4 separate regions of the Homo sapiens genome follow, and regions 2, 3 and 4 are each linked to region 1. Evidence: promoter capture Hi-C in 16 types of primary human blood cells and fetal thymus (Javierre and others, 2016). All regions are on one chromosome and are shown on one strand. Each heading gives the region's core, a stretch centred on a gene start or on the middle of the fragment in contact. The rest is flanking DNA. Distances are from core to core; before and after follow the strand shown.

Region 1 (3,476 bases), core at 622-3,121:
CACCCTCCCTCTTCTGAGTCTCTAAATTCCATTATATCACTGTGTTTGCCTTTGTATATTCACAGCTTAGCTCCCACTTACAAGTGAAAACATACGGTTTTTGGTTTTCCACTCCTGAGTTACTTCACTTAGAATAATGGCCTCTAGCTCCATCCAGGTTGCTGCAAAAGACATTATTTTGTTCCTTTTTATTGCTGAGTAGTATTCCATGGTGTATATATACCACATTTTCTGTACCCACTCGGTCGATGGGCACTTAGGTTGGCAATTGTGAATTGTGCTGCTGTAAACATACATGTGCAAGTGTCTTCTTCATATAATGACTTCTTTTCCTTTGGGTAGATACCCAGTAGTGGAATTGCTGGACCAAATGGTAGAACTACTTTTTGTTCTTTAAGGAATCACCATACTTTTTTCCATAGAAGTTGTACATTCCTACCAGCAGTGTTTAAGCATTCCCTTTTCCCCACATCCACGCCTACACTGTTTTTTGACTATTGTTTTTTGAGGTTTTTTTTCTTTTTTAGACAGGGTTTCAATGTGTTGCCCAGGCTGGAGTACTGTGGCACAATCATGGCTCACTGCAGCCTCAGACTCATGGGATCAAGGGATCCTCCTGCCCCAACACACGGCCCCCCGCCCCCCGCCCCCCGCCCCCCTCCCAGTACCTGGGACTACAGGTGCTCACCACTACACCCGGCTAATATTTGTATTTTTGTAGAGACGGGGTTTTGCCATGTTGCCCAGGCTGGTCTTGAACACCTGGGCTCAAATGATCTGCCCAACAGGCCTCCCAAAGTGCTGGGATTACAGGTGTGAGCCACTGCGCCCGGCCTTTTTTTCTGACTTTTTAATGATGGCCATTCTTGCAGGAGTAAGGTGGTATCTCCTTGTGGTATTAACTTGCATTTCTTCGATGATCAGTGATGTTGAGCATTTTTTCATGTATTTGTTGGCCATTTGAATATCTTTTGAGAAATATCTATTCATGTCCTTTGCCCATTTTTTGATGGCATTATTTTCTTTCTTGCTGATTTGAGTTCCTTCTAGATTCTGGACACTAGGCCTTTTTCCGATGCATAGTTTGCAAATATTTTCTCTTAATCTGTGGTTGTCTATTATTTCTTTTGATGTGCAGAAGCTTTTTAGTTTAATTAGGTCCCATTTATGTATTTTTGTTTTTGTTGCATTTGCTTTTGGGGTCTTAGACATGAATTCTTTGCTTGGGCTGATTATTAGACGAACATTTATTGAGCACCAACCATATACGACAAACGATGTACTAGGTGTTGGGAATACAATGGAGAACTTACATGAATCACCAGTCACACAAATCTCTTTTATCTTTTTTTTTTTTTTTTTGCCTTACTTGAGAATTTGGGTTTTTGAGTAAACGCCATTATTCTCTCTTTTTTTAAGCACACTTTTGCATCTCAACCACCTAACACACTGCATCCCTGAGCAACCCGGAGGGGCCGGTTCCTGCACCCAGGCCAACACAACTTAAACCCCAACACACCAGAAGAGGAATAAAGGCCAACCAACTTCCGCCCACCCACTACAAACGTCGAGAGAAATTCGTAGATGAGGCCTTGTCAAAATTCAGAGGCGTCCTACGTCTGCTTTCCCAATGAGACAGTTCCTTTTTGTTTGTCTCAGAGACTGGGGTTTTTTTTTTTTTAAAAGACTGTAGGCAGAAAAAACACCCCAACCGGCTGTTGTGACAATCAAACGTGTCTAAGAAAATTCAGCCAATGAGAGTGCGAGAGTGCATCTTGTGTTGGCCAATGAGAACAGCGACCCGTGCGCAGGGCCGCCCAATGGGGCGCAAGCGACGCGGTATTTGAATCCTGGAACAAGGCTACAGCGTCGAAGATCCCCAGCGCTGCGGGCTCGGAGAGCAGTCCTAACGGCGCCTCGTACGCTAGTGTCCTCCCTTTTCAGTCCGCGTCCCTCCCTGGGCCGGGCTGGCACTCTTGCCTTCCCCGTCCCTCATGGCGCTGCTCCGACGCCCGACGGTGAGTGTGCCCGGGGACCGCTCTCAGAGGCGAGTCCGTCGGCCCCACAGCTCCCCTGTCGCTTCTCTCATCTGCTCCGAGCTTCTCCGTCCCAACCGGGGCTGCTTTTCTCTTCTCCGGAGCTCACTGCTTCGCCCGCGTCCCTGGCCCTGCGGCCGGTCCTCTCCGGCCCGCCTTTCCCCGTCTGGATTCCGCCCTCCCCTAACCCCTCCCTGCCCCGGGGTGGGAGAAGTGTAGGAAAGCGCTTCCGAGATGGCGCCTGTCAAGTGAGCCCCCAGAGCACTAGGCCTAGTACTCAGCGAGCGATCCCCGAGTGCTCTTCATTGCTAGAGAGTTATCTACTTCCACGTTCCTGGGATTTCCCTCCCCCTTTCTTACAACTCCTTGCCAACTAAGGGACCTGTGATGGCGGCTGGGAGGAGGACTGGAAGGGTTCTGTAGGCAGTAAAGTGTACGGCGTGTTTCATCAGGCAACTGCCAGGCTGTTTTTCAGATTGTTCACATTTCTTTTTGTATGAGTTTCCCATTTATTTCGGCACGCTAAGTCTTCCATGCTACGTTCACTAATAAATGGGTTTGTCCCCTTAAAAAATTAATTTCTTTACTCAAATGTAACAGAGGTTTTTGAATATAATTTGGACCAATGTGGCAGACTGAGAGAAAAGGGTCCAAATTCATTTATTTCATCCTTGCAGAGATCAAAGTGTTATGGTGTTTTGGGTATTTTTCCTGTGGGCTTGAATTGTACCGGGACCTACTTTTTTCCTTTGCCGAAAGCTAGAGGGCCCTGACACACCTGAGTTCCATCATCTTGGCTATAAGGTTAGATAAAAGCTGCCAATTTTCCTATCCAGATGAATTTAAATTGAGTCACATTACCAGGCTTCTACCCATAAGCATTACATTTTCAAACACTTTTTCAGATTGGCAGTTGCTGCTGGAAGAAATTGAAGTGTGACTTTTGAGAATCCTAATAGATTGAATACATTTAGCATTTAATTAATATCCTTTTGTGGATCTAAGTCCAACTGACAAGTAATTTTTTATAATAATGTATTCTATAACGTTATTTAATAGTCAAAACCTTTCTGTTCAGGGAAGGCTTGAGTTTCCCTGGCCCCTCTCTCTGCCTGGTAGATCCACTCAAACCCCTTGTTGGGAGTTTTATTAGAGTCGGGACCCTGAACTCTCAGGGATAGGACATGCTGGTTTTTTGCTTTTTTCTTTTTTAATGAAATGTTTATCACTTCTATAATAAACTTTTTTTGGTATGAGTTGCTTTTCCTAGCAAGTTTTATTTCCAAGCACATTATGTCTAAAGCAGGTTAAGGTCAACTGACAATTTTTATTTCATACAATTCCAACCTTCCCTGAGTTTGGGAGCTAAAACTATATTACTCAAGAAAACTACTTCCATTCTAAATGTCCTTAATATAAGAGAAAATCCATTCTATGGCA
Region 2 (3,476 bases), core at 692-3,191, 430 kb after region 1:
ACTGAGGCAGGAGGATGGCTTGAGGCCAGGAGTTTGAGACAATCCTGGGCAACATATTGAGACCCCATCTATACAAAAACATTTTTTTTTTAAATTAGCCAAGGATGGTGGCATGCACCTATAGTCTTACCTAGTTGGGATGCTGAGGTGGGAGGATCGCTTGAGCCTAGGAGGTCAAGGCTGTATTAAGTTATGATTGTGCCACTGCACTCCAGCTTGGATGACAGAGCAAGACTCTGTCTCAAACCCCCCACCCCCCGCAAAAAAAACAAACAGCAACACACAATGAAATACCATTTCAATCTTATTAAGAATAAAAAAAGACAGGCAATAACAAGTTTTGTGTGCTTTTGTTTTTTTTGTCTGTTTGTTTGTTTGGAAAGAGTCTCACTCTGTTGTCCAGGCTGGAATGCAGAGGCATGAACATGGCTCGCTGCAGCCTTGACTTCCTGGGCTCGAGAGATCCTCCTGCATCAGCCTCCCCACCTGGGACCACAGGTGCATGCCATCACACCCAGCTAATCAATTTTTTTTTTTTGAGACAGGGTCTTACTGTGTTGCCCAGGCTGGTCTGAAACTCTTGGTCTCCAGCAATCCTTCCACCTCAGCCTCCCAAAATGCCGGAATGACAGACATCAGGCTCTGTGCCTGGCTAGTAACAAGTTTTGATGAAGATGTGAAGAAATTTGGAAACCTCATATATTGCCAGTGAAAATGCAAACTGGTGCAGCCCCTTTGGTTTCATTTACTTATTTATTTTTGAGATAAGTTTTCACTCTGTTGCTCAGGCTAGAGTGCAGTGATACAATTATAGCTCACTGTAGCCTCAACCTCCTGGCTCAAGTGATCCTACCCACTCGGCCTCCTGAGTATTTAAGAGTATCAGTGCAGGCCACCACACCCAGCTATATATTTTTTATATATATGTATGTGTATATATACACATATATATGTGTGTGTGTATATATATGTGTGTGTGTATGTATATGTACGTATATATGTGTGTATATATGTACATATATATATACGTGTATATGTGTGTATATACATACGTATATGTGTATATATACGTATATACGTGTATATATATGTGTATATATACGTGTATATATACGTGTGTATATATACGTGTATATATACGTGTGTATATATACGTGTATATATACGTGTGTATATATACGTGTATATATACGTGTGTATATATACGTGTATATATACGTGTGTATATATACGTGTATATATACGTGTGTATATATACGTGTATATATACGTGTGTATATATACGTGTATATATACGTGTGTATATATACGTGTATATATACGTGTGTATATATACGTGTATATATACGTGTGTATATATACGTGTATATATACGTGTGTATATATACGTGTATATATACGTGTGTATATATACGTGTATATATACGTGTGTATATATACGTGTATATATACGTGTGTATATATACGTGTATATATACGTGTGTATATATACGTGTATATATGTGTGTATATATACGTGTATATATATGTGTGTATATATACGTGTATATATATACGTGTGTATATATACGTGTATATATATACGTGTGTATATGTGTATATATATACGTGTATATATATACGCGTATATATATACGTGTATATATATATATATATATTTTTTTTTTCTTGGTAGAGGCAGGGTCTTATTATGTTGCTCAGGCTGACCTTGAACTCCTCAAGTGATCCTTCTGCCTTGGCCTCCCAAAGTGCTAGGATTACAGATGTGAGTCACCATGCCACACCCTGGAAAAGAGTGTGGTAAACAGGCAGTTCTTCAAAATGTTGAGTATAGAGTTCCCATATGACCCAGCAGTTTTACTGCTAAGTGTGTACACCAAAGAACTGAAAACCTAGGTCCACACAAAGACCTGTACAAGAATATTCATAACATGACAAAAAGGAATTTGAGGAAATCTAAAAAAAAAAAAAGAATATTCATAGAAGCATTTTCATAGTAGACAAAAGGTGGGAACAACACAAATATTCATCAACTGATGAATGGATAAATAAAATGTGGCACATAATACAATGTAATATTATTCAGCCGTAAAAAGGAATGGAATTGTGATCCATGCTACATCATGGATGACCCTTGGAAAGATTCTTTTTTTTTAAAATTAAATGTTTTGAGACAGTATCTCACTCTGTTGCCCAGGCTGGAGTGCAGCGGCCTGATCACGGCTCACTGCAGCCTGGATCTCCCAAGGTTCAGGTGATCCTCGTGCCTCAGCCCCCAAAACAGCTGGGAATGCAGGTGCTCACCACCATGCCTGACTGATTTTTGTATTTTTAGTAGAGATGGGGTTTCGCCATGTTGCCCAGGCTGTTCTCAAACTCCTGGGCTCAAACGATCTACCCACCTCGGTCTCACAAAGTACTGTGATTATAGGTGTGAGACACCACGACCAGCCTGGAAATATATCTGAAGTGAAGGAAGCCAGTCACAAAAGACCACATAGGGTAAAATTTCATGCATTATAAAATGTTCAGAACAGGCCAATCTATAAACACAGAAAGTGGCTTGGTGGTTTCCAGAAACTGGGGTGAAGGTGGAATGATAAGTGACTGCTAATGCGGACAAGGTTTCTTTTTGGAGTGATAAAAATATTAAAACACTCTCTACCAATAACCTGGAGGAAAATAAACACTCAACATCCATTTAAAAATGTAATAAAGATAAAGACGTGGTTGTGCCTTTGGGTTCAAAATATAACTGGGTTGAAGTGGATGTCTCCTGCTGCCTGGCCAGCCTGTGCCTTCTTTTACTAGGGTGACAGCCTCTGGCTTCTCTTGAAGAACAAGCCCCGGTTCTGTGTGGTTCTGGTGGAAATGTTATTGAAAGGACTCCTTACCTCCCACTAAGGGGCAAATACTTTGGCTTGGAAATTTGAACTGAATTAAATGGCCTAAGGAAACTGTTGAGATGGAATCATTCTCAGGATAGCACTTGAAATCTTTCCCTCCTTCCTTCCTTCTTTCCTTCCTTCCTTCCCTTCCTCCCTCCCTCCCTCCCTCCTTCCCTTCCCTCCCTCCCTTCCTCCTTCCTTCCTTCCCTCCCTTTCTTTTTTTTGAAACAGAGTTTCACTTTTGTCATCCAGGCTGGAGTGCAATAGCATGATCTCGGCACACTGCAACCTCCACCTCCTGGGCTCAAGTGATTCTCCTGCCTCAGCCTCCCAAGTAGCGGGGATTACAGGTGCCCGCCACCATGCCCAGCTAAGTTTTGTATTTTTAGTAGAGATGGGGTTTTGCCGTGTTGGCCAGGCTGGTCTCGAACTCCAGACCTCCCAGTCCTGCTGCCTGGACTCTCCTGGAGATTGTTAGAAGCCCTAGCCCAGACCTCCTGCATCAAATTCTGCAGTTCAACAAGATCCACAGGTGCACTGTATACTCTTTAATGTTTGAAAAACTAGAGCAGAGGTTGGCAACCACAG
Region 3 (3,476 bases), core at 428-2,927, 410 kb after region 1:
TCTTGTTTGTTTTAATTTCTTGATCTGGGTTTGCTTTTTTGCCTGGTGTTGAATAGATTTCTGTCTCCAGATCACACCATTCTACTGTAGCTACATGTGAGATACCACAGTGCAACATGTAAACAGAATCCACCATTTTTTTCCCCATTTTCCTTCTCCTTCATCCCAGTCTCTCACAGAGCTAAGGTTTGTAGAACTGCTCAAAAACGATATCAAGAAAGTCTTGTGCCGGGCACTGTGGCTCACTCCTGTAATCCCAGCACTTTGGGAGGCTGAGGCGGGAGGATCGCTTGAGCCCAGGAGTTCGAGACCAGCCTGGGAAACATGGTGAAACCCCATCTCTACAAAAAACACAAAAATTAGCTGAGCATGGTGACACACGCTTGTAGTCCCAGCTACTCAGGAGGCTGAGCCTGAATCCACCTTGAGCCCAGGAAGGTCAAAACTGCAGTGAGGTATGACTGCACGCTGCACTCCAGCCTGGGCGACAGAGTGAGACTCTATCTCAAAAAAAGAAAAAAAAGTCTTGCATATGTAGTATTCAAAATTGTTATGCTCCCAAACCAGTACCTGGCAAGCAAAGTTTCATTGGTTTTCATTGTTTAGCATGACATCTCTGTCTCCCTTCCCTTTTCTTGTACTGTTTCCTCTTGTTGGATATTGATGATTGAGCTGAAATGACTGGTGCAGTACATCTCTGACTCTGCTCTCTCCAGATGTGGAGCTGTTGAATTGCAGACTCTGCATTGAGCACCATCAAGAGAGGAGTATCATGCCATAACCCACTTACAGCTTGGAGTTTGCAGTCTTGGCCTCCAAGCTCACTGGCAGACACAGATTCCCATAAAAACCAAGCATGTGGAAAGGCAAAAGGAAAGGAAAGACTTAATTTTCATATATGATTTTATATATATTTAAAATATTAAATATGTTCTTTTAAGTATTTCCCCATATTTCCATCACATCTACTAATTGGCTTACTTGGATTTATACTAATACATTTGTACTAATAATTCTTGGTCTTTGGATCACTGTTTATATATGGATTGGTTTAATAGCTAACAGTAAACCCCAGGATAATAGTGGCTTTCATGAAATAGAAACTTATTTTTTATTTCGCATAATGGAAGTCTGGGTATAGGTAATGCAGGACTGGTATGATAGCTTCTCAGTCCTCAGTGACCCAGGATCCTTCCAGTTTAACTTTTTGCCAACCCTAGAGTGATCCATATCTTCATAATTCAATATAGCTGCTAGAGCTCCAGCCATTCTGGCTGAATTCCAGAAAGGGAAGGACGAAGGAAGAAGTAAGGAGATACATCAGCTGTCTTTTAACTTTTCCTGGAAGCTGCCATATACACTTGTACTTACATCTCATTGAATGTAGTGGTTTTTTTTTTTTTTTTTTGAGACAGAGTCTCACTCTGTTACCCAGGCTGGAGTGGAATGGCGAGATCTTGGCTCACTGCAACCTCGCCTCCCCTGTTCAAGTGATTCTCCTGCCTCAGCCTCCTATGTAGCTGGGATTACAGGCACCCACCACCATCCATCCCTGGCTAATTTTTGTATTTTTAATAAAGACAGGGTTTCACCATGTTGGCCAGGCTTGTCTCGAACTCCTGACCTCAAGTGATCTGCCTGCCTCGGCCTCCCAAAGTGCTGGAATTACAGGCGTGAGCCACCGCACCCAGCCTGAAAATGTAGTCTTTGTTTTGAATGACCTTGTACCCAGCCGAAAATCATGGATCTGTTAAGGAAGAAAGGGAGAACGGATATTATGGTGGGCAACAAGCAGCTGTTGCAAATCTGTTTCTTGCAGATTGTTGTTAAACGATATTATGGCTGATGTGAATGCAATGCAGATTTCTTTTTGGAGTGATTAAGTGCAGTTCTTATCATGGATCTCAGGGAGCCAGTGAAAGGGATATGGAGAAGAAGCTCAGCCAGATGTCAGCCAGGCTTGACAAAATAGAAGAGGGTCAAAAGAAGACTTTTGATGGTCAGAGAACAAGGCAAGAAGAGGAGAAGATGCACGGGCGAATCACCAAGCTGGAGTTACAGATGAACCAGAACATCAAGGAAATGAAAGCAGAAGTTAATGCTGGTAGGCCAAAACCAGAACAGCTCACGTGCTTTATTTTCTGTTTGTTCTAAAACCTATTAATTAGTATCCCCTGCAACTACCTATGAACCTGGCTAATGGTAATAACCGTGAAATATCCTTAGTTGATTTTCTGAGTAGCTGTGCTGTATTTTCTAAGTAGCTACAATGCTGTTTGAATTTCAGCTATATAAAGAGCCACCGTGAGAGACAGGCAAACAGAACTGAAATTGCTTAGCCTGCAACTGAGGTACATTTTCTTCAGCACCATCGGCCAATTCTTTTCTGTTCATAGCCAAGGTTAACATGTCTCAGAAGGAAGCACATATCTTTGAGGGGGTTTTGAGGGCTTATTTTATAGTGCTAGCAGTACAGTACCACCCTGGCAAAGAATGATTTTCCTCTACTGGCAGGTCAGCAGGGCGCATTAATTCACACTTGCTTAGAGGAGAACATTAGCACTGATTTCAAGTTCTGAGTGCTGTCATATATGGGAGGGATTAGATTTACGCTCTGAACTCAGGAATACAGAACTGTGACCACTAAGTGGAAGGTACCCGAAGACAGATTTTAACTCAATATGAGGCAGAAGTACCTTGAAGTTAATGAGTCCTAAAAGACTGATGGCTTTCGGAGCTTGAGAGCTCTTTGTTACAGAAAATATTCAAGTAGAGGCTGGTTGATTGTGGTCAGGAAGAAGACGTTCCTGTAGTGTGAGAAGTGGAACTAAATTCTCTCCTAGCTTCTTCCAGTTGTATGATTCCATGAATTTTCTTCTATGAAATTGTTCTGTTTTGGCCACATGGAAATAAAAGTGCTAGTTATCCCTAGAATAATTTTGTTATTACCACCAAATGTTTATTATTTTATTTATAGGAGCTACAATTAAATATATGAATTGGAGAACTTGTAAAGATAAAAATGAATTTTCTTTCTTAGTCTTTGGACTATTAAAATATGGTATTTGAATATTTCATCAATGTTTAACCTCGCATCATTCCCTGAAGGAATGTATTGTTATTTAACATACCATTGAGGATGTTAATATTTAGCACCTAATATGAAAAGCATCTGAGCCTTTTAAAAAATAAAGCCATTTTCTTTATTACAAAGACAATATATTTCTTCTTTCTTCCTTTTTTTTTTTTGTTTTGGAGACAGAATCTTGCTCTGTTGCCAGCCTGGAGTGCAGTGGCGTGATCTTGGCTCACTGCAACCTCTGCCTTCAGGGTACAAGCGATTCTCCTGCCTCAGCCTCCTGAGTAGCTGGGATTACAGGCGCCTGACATCACGGCCGGCTAATTTTTTTTTTTTTTTTTTAATAGAAACAAGGTTTCACCATGTTGGCCAGGCTAGTCTTGAACCCCCAACCTCA
Region 4 (3,476 bases), core at 444-2,943, 390 kb after region 1:
AGTTTCTTATCAACTTCTCTACTCAACTTGTTGCTTCCCTGTAACAAAAACTTTCACTCTAAAGGCATCAAAAGTGTTTGTTATGAGTACTAAATATTTTTGCTTTGTTTTTTTGGCTATATTAGAATGCTGATGAGACTTGATTGTTGAAATGAATTCATGTGAAATAAAAATTCTTTGGAAAAGTTTCTTGGCTTTCTTGTGTTGATTATGTAATTGTATTGGAGGGGTATGAACATTTTAAGTGGTATTCTTAAGACACTAGGTTGCTATATTATTTCATATTTAATTTTATAGTTTTTATGTGTCCATTGGTGATGTAATTAGTAGCAAATGGGCCTTGATTTTTTTCCCCTGTAAATCCAGCTCAGAAGGGCAAAGGCAAGTTCTCCATAAAGATGAGATACACATTTAGCTCATGTGGCATACCGTGTTCTAAACAGGACTTGATCAGACCTGAAGGCCCGATACATAGCCTCCTTTCTCTCTCCTCTCTCTCTCTGAACACCTTTAGTGAGATCTAACTATATAAGTCACCTACTTAAAGCACACAATTCAGTGATTTTTAGTGTATTCACACAGTCATGTAGTCATCACCACAATCGATTTCAGAACGTTTTTATCATCCAAAAAGAAACCCCATACCTGTTAGCTGTCACTCCCCATTTTTCCCCAGCCTCCCCAGTTCCCCAGTCCATGGCAGGCCTACATTCTCTGTCTGATGGATTTCCCTCTTCTGAGCATTTCGAGTGAATGTGTTCCCTTGATTCTGGCTTCTGACACTTAGCATCATGTTTTCAGGGTTCATCCATGTTGTAGCATGTATCAGCACTACATTCCTTGTTATGGCTGCATAGTACCTCATTGTGTACTGCATTTTAAAAACCTGTTCATCAGTTGAACGTTGGGGTTGTTTCCACTTTTGACTATTTTAAATAATGCTGCTGTGAACATTTGTCTATTTGTTTTTGTGTGCTCATAGGTTTTCATTTCTCTTGGATATGTACCTAGAATGAAAAAGCTGAGTAACATGATAACTCTATATTCAACTTTTGAGGAACAGCGCAGCTAGACTGTTTGCCGAAGTGGCCGCCACTTTACATTGCCCCCAGCAGTGTCTGAGGGCTCCGATTCCTTCACATCCTCACTAACAGTTGTTTTCTATCTTTTCGATTATAGCCATCCCAGTGGGTTTGAAGAGGTATCTCATTGTGGTTTTGATTGCATCCCCCTGAGGACTAATGGTGTTGAACATCATTTAATGTGCTTGCTCGTCATTGGCATATCTTCTTTAGGAAAATATTTATTCAGATTCCTTGCCCATTTTTAAATTGGGTAATTGTCTTTCTATTATTGAGCTGTAGGAGTTTTAAAAATTATATATTCTAGATATAATTCCCTTATCAGATATCTGATTTGAAAAATTACTGTCCCATTCTAAGGGATGTCTTTTCATTTTCTCATGTCTTTTGAAACTTAAAAATTTTTAATCTTGCTTATATCTAACATCTATCTTTTCTTCAGTTGCTAGTGTTTGGGGTGTCATATTTAAGAAACTCTTGCCTAATCCAGGTCACAAAGATTTATGCCTATATTTTCTTTTTAAGTTTTATAGTTTCAGCTCTTACATTTAGGCCTGTGATCCATTTTTAGTTAATTTTTTTGTATATAGTATAAGGTAAGGTTCCACATTTATTATTTTCCTTGTAGATATCTATTTATCCCAGCATAATTTGTTGAAAAGTCTATTCTTTCCCCCATCAAATGGTCTTGGCACCCTAGTTGAAAAATCACTTGGCGGCCGGGAGCGGTGGCTCACGCCTGTAATCCCAGTGCATTGGGAGGCCGAGGCGGGCAGATCAGGAGGTCAGGAGTTCAAGACCAGCCTGACCAATATGGTGAAACCCCGTCTCTACTAAAAATACAAAAATTTGCCAGGTGTGGCGGCCTGCGCCTGTAGTCCCAGCTACTCAGGAGGCTGAAGCAGGAGAATCACTTGAACCTGGGAGGCGGAGGTTGTAGTGAGCCAAGATCTCGCCACTGCACTCCAGCCTGGGCAACATAGCAAGACTCTATCTCAAAAAAAAAAGAAAGAAAATCACTTGGCAAATAGGTGTATAGATTTATTTGTAGACTCTCAATTCTATTCCATTGATTCTCAATTATTTTCTTATGCTGGTACCACACTGTCTTGATTGCTATAGCTTTGTGGTACATTTTGAAATTGAGAAGTGTGAGTCCTCCAACTTCATCCTTTTTTTTCAAGATTGTGTTAGCTGTTTTAGGTCCATTGTATTTCCTTATGAAATTTAGGATCAGGCCAGGTGCAGTGGCTCACGCTTGTAGTCCCAGCACTTTGGGAGGCCAAGGCGGGTGGATCTCCTGAGGTCAGGTATTTGAGATCAGCCTGGCCAACATGGTGAAATCCCATCTCTACCAAAAAGACAAAAATTAGCTGGGTGTGGTAGCGCACACCTGTAATCTCAGCTCCTGGGGAGGCTGAGGCAGGAGAATCGCTTGAACCTAGAGGTTGCAGTGAGCCGGGATTGTGCCACTGCACTCCAGCCTGGGTGACAGAGCAAAACTTTGTCTCAAATTTAAAAAAGAAGAAGAAGAAGAAGAAGAAGAAATTTAGGATCAGGCTAGGCATGGCGGCTCACGCCTGTAATCCCAGCACTTTGGGAGGCTGAGGTGGGCAGATCACGAGATCAGGAGTTTGAGACCAGCCTGGCCAACATGGTGAAATCCCATCTCTACTAAAAATACAAAAATTAGCCAGGTGTGGTAGTGGCCACCTGTAATCCCAGCTACTCGGGTGGCTGAGGCAGGATAATCGCTTGAACCTGAGAGGCGGAGGCTGCAGTGAGCCGAGGTTGTGCCACTGCACTCCAGCCTGGGCAACAGAGCAAGACTCTGTCTCAAAAAAAAAAAAATTTAAGATCAGTTTGTCAATTTCTGCAAAGAAACCAGTTGGAATATTGATAGGGACTGTGTTGAATCTGTAGATCCGTTTGGGGAATATTGCCATTTTAAAAATATTAAGTCTTTCAGTGGGTTCAGTGTCTCATGCCTGTAATCCCAGGGATTTGGGAGGCCAAGGTAGGAGGATTGCTTGAGGCCAGGAGTTTGAGGCCAGGAGTTTGAGGCCAGGAGTTTGAGACCATGTTTGGCAACATAGCAAGACTGTATATCTATGAAAAAATGAATATAAGTTAGCTGGGCATGGTGGCACATGCCTGTAGTTGCAGGGAGCTATGATCATATCACTGCACTTCAACCAGGGTGACAGAGCAAGACCCTGTTTCAAAAAAAATAAACAAATAAGCCTTTATTTAAAAAAAATTTTTTTAGAAACATTGTCTTCCTTTGTTGCCCACACTGGAGTGCAGTGGCATGATCACAATTCCCTGCAGTTTGAACTCTTGGGCTCAAGCAATCCTCCCACCTCAGCTTCCTGAGTAGCTGGGACTACAGGC

What was found. The method cuts DNA at HindIII sites, captures the fragments that hold promoters and counts their contacts. A CHiCAGO score of 5 or more calls a contact.
Region 2: a fragment that was not itself captured here is called in contact with the fragment with the promoter of CCNB2 in region 1 in 1 of 17 cell types (neutrophils); the score reaches 6.1 in neutrophils.
Region 3: a fragment that was not itself captured here is called in contact with the fragment with the promoter of CCNB2 in region 1 in 3 of 17 cell types (monocytes, naive CD8 T cells and non-activated CD4 T cells); the score reaches 7.7 in monocytes.
Region 4: a contact is called between a fragment that was not itself captured here and the fragment with the promoter of CCNB2 in region 1, in 2 of 17 cell types (M1 macrophages and monocytes). The highest score is 5.9, in M1 macrophages.

The regions. Positions count from the first base shown.
Region 1 is chr15:59,103,275-59,106,750 of GRCh38, forward strand. CCNB2 (cyclin B2) reads left to right here and starts at 1,872. Exons shown (of 9, transcript NM_004701.4): 1 at 1,872-2,018. The coding sequence starts at 1,995. RefSeq lists an enhancer at 1,395-1,684. The HindIII fragment of the contact is 2,621 bases long and covers 1,140-3,476 here.
Region 2 is chr15:59,538,191-59,541,666 of GRCh38, forward strand. No RefSeq gene overlaps it. Among named protein-coding and RNA genes, the nearest start is that of GCNT3, 72 kb to the right of the region's middle. The HindIII fragment of the contact is 5,264 bases long and covers 1-3,476 here.
Region 3 is chr15:59,514,737-59,518,212 of GRCh38, forward strand. FAM81A (family with sequence similarity 81 member A) reads left to right here. Exons shown (of 9, transcript NM_152450.3): 8 at 1,909-2,104. Among named protein-coding and RNA genes, the nearest start is that of FAM81A, 78 kb to the left of the region's middle. RefSeq lists an enhancer at 523-592. The HindIII fragment of the contact is 7,154 bases long and covers 1-3,476 here.
Region 4 is chr15:59,494,526-59,498,001 of GRCh38, forward strand. All of the region lies in intron 4 of FAM81A (family with sequence similarity 81 member A), which reads left to right. Among named protein-coding and RNA genes, the nearest start is that of FAM81A, 58 kb to the left of the region's middle. The HindIII fragment of the contact is 9,786 bases long and covers 1-3,476 here.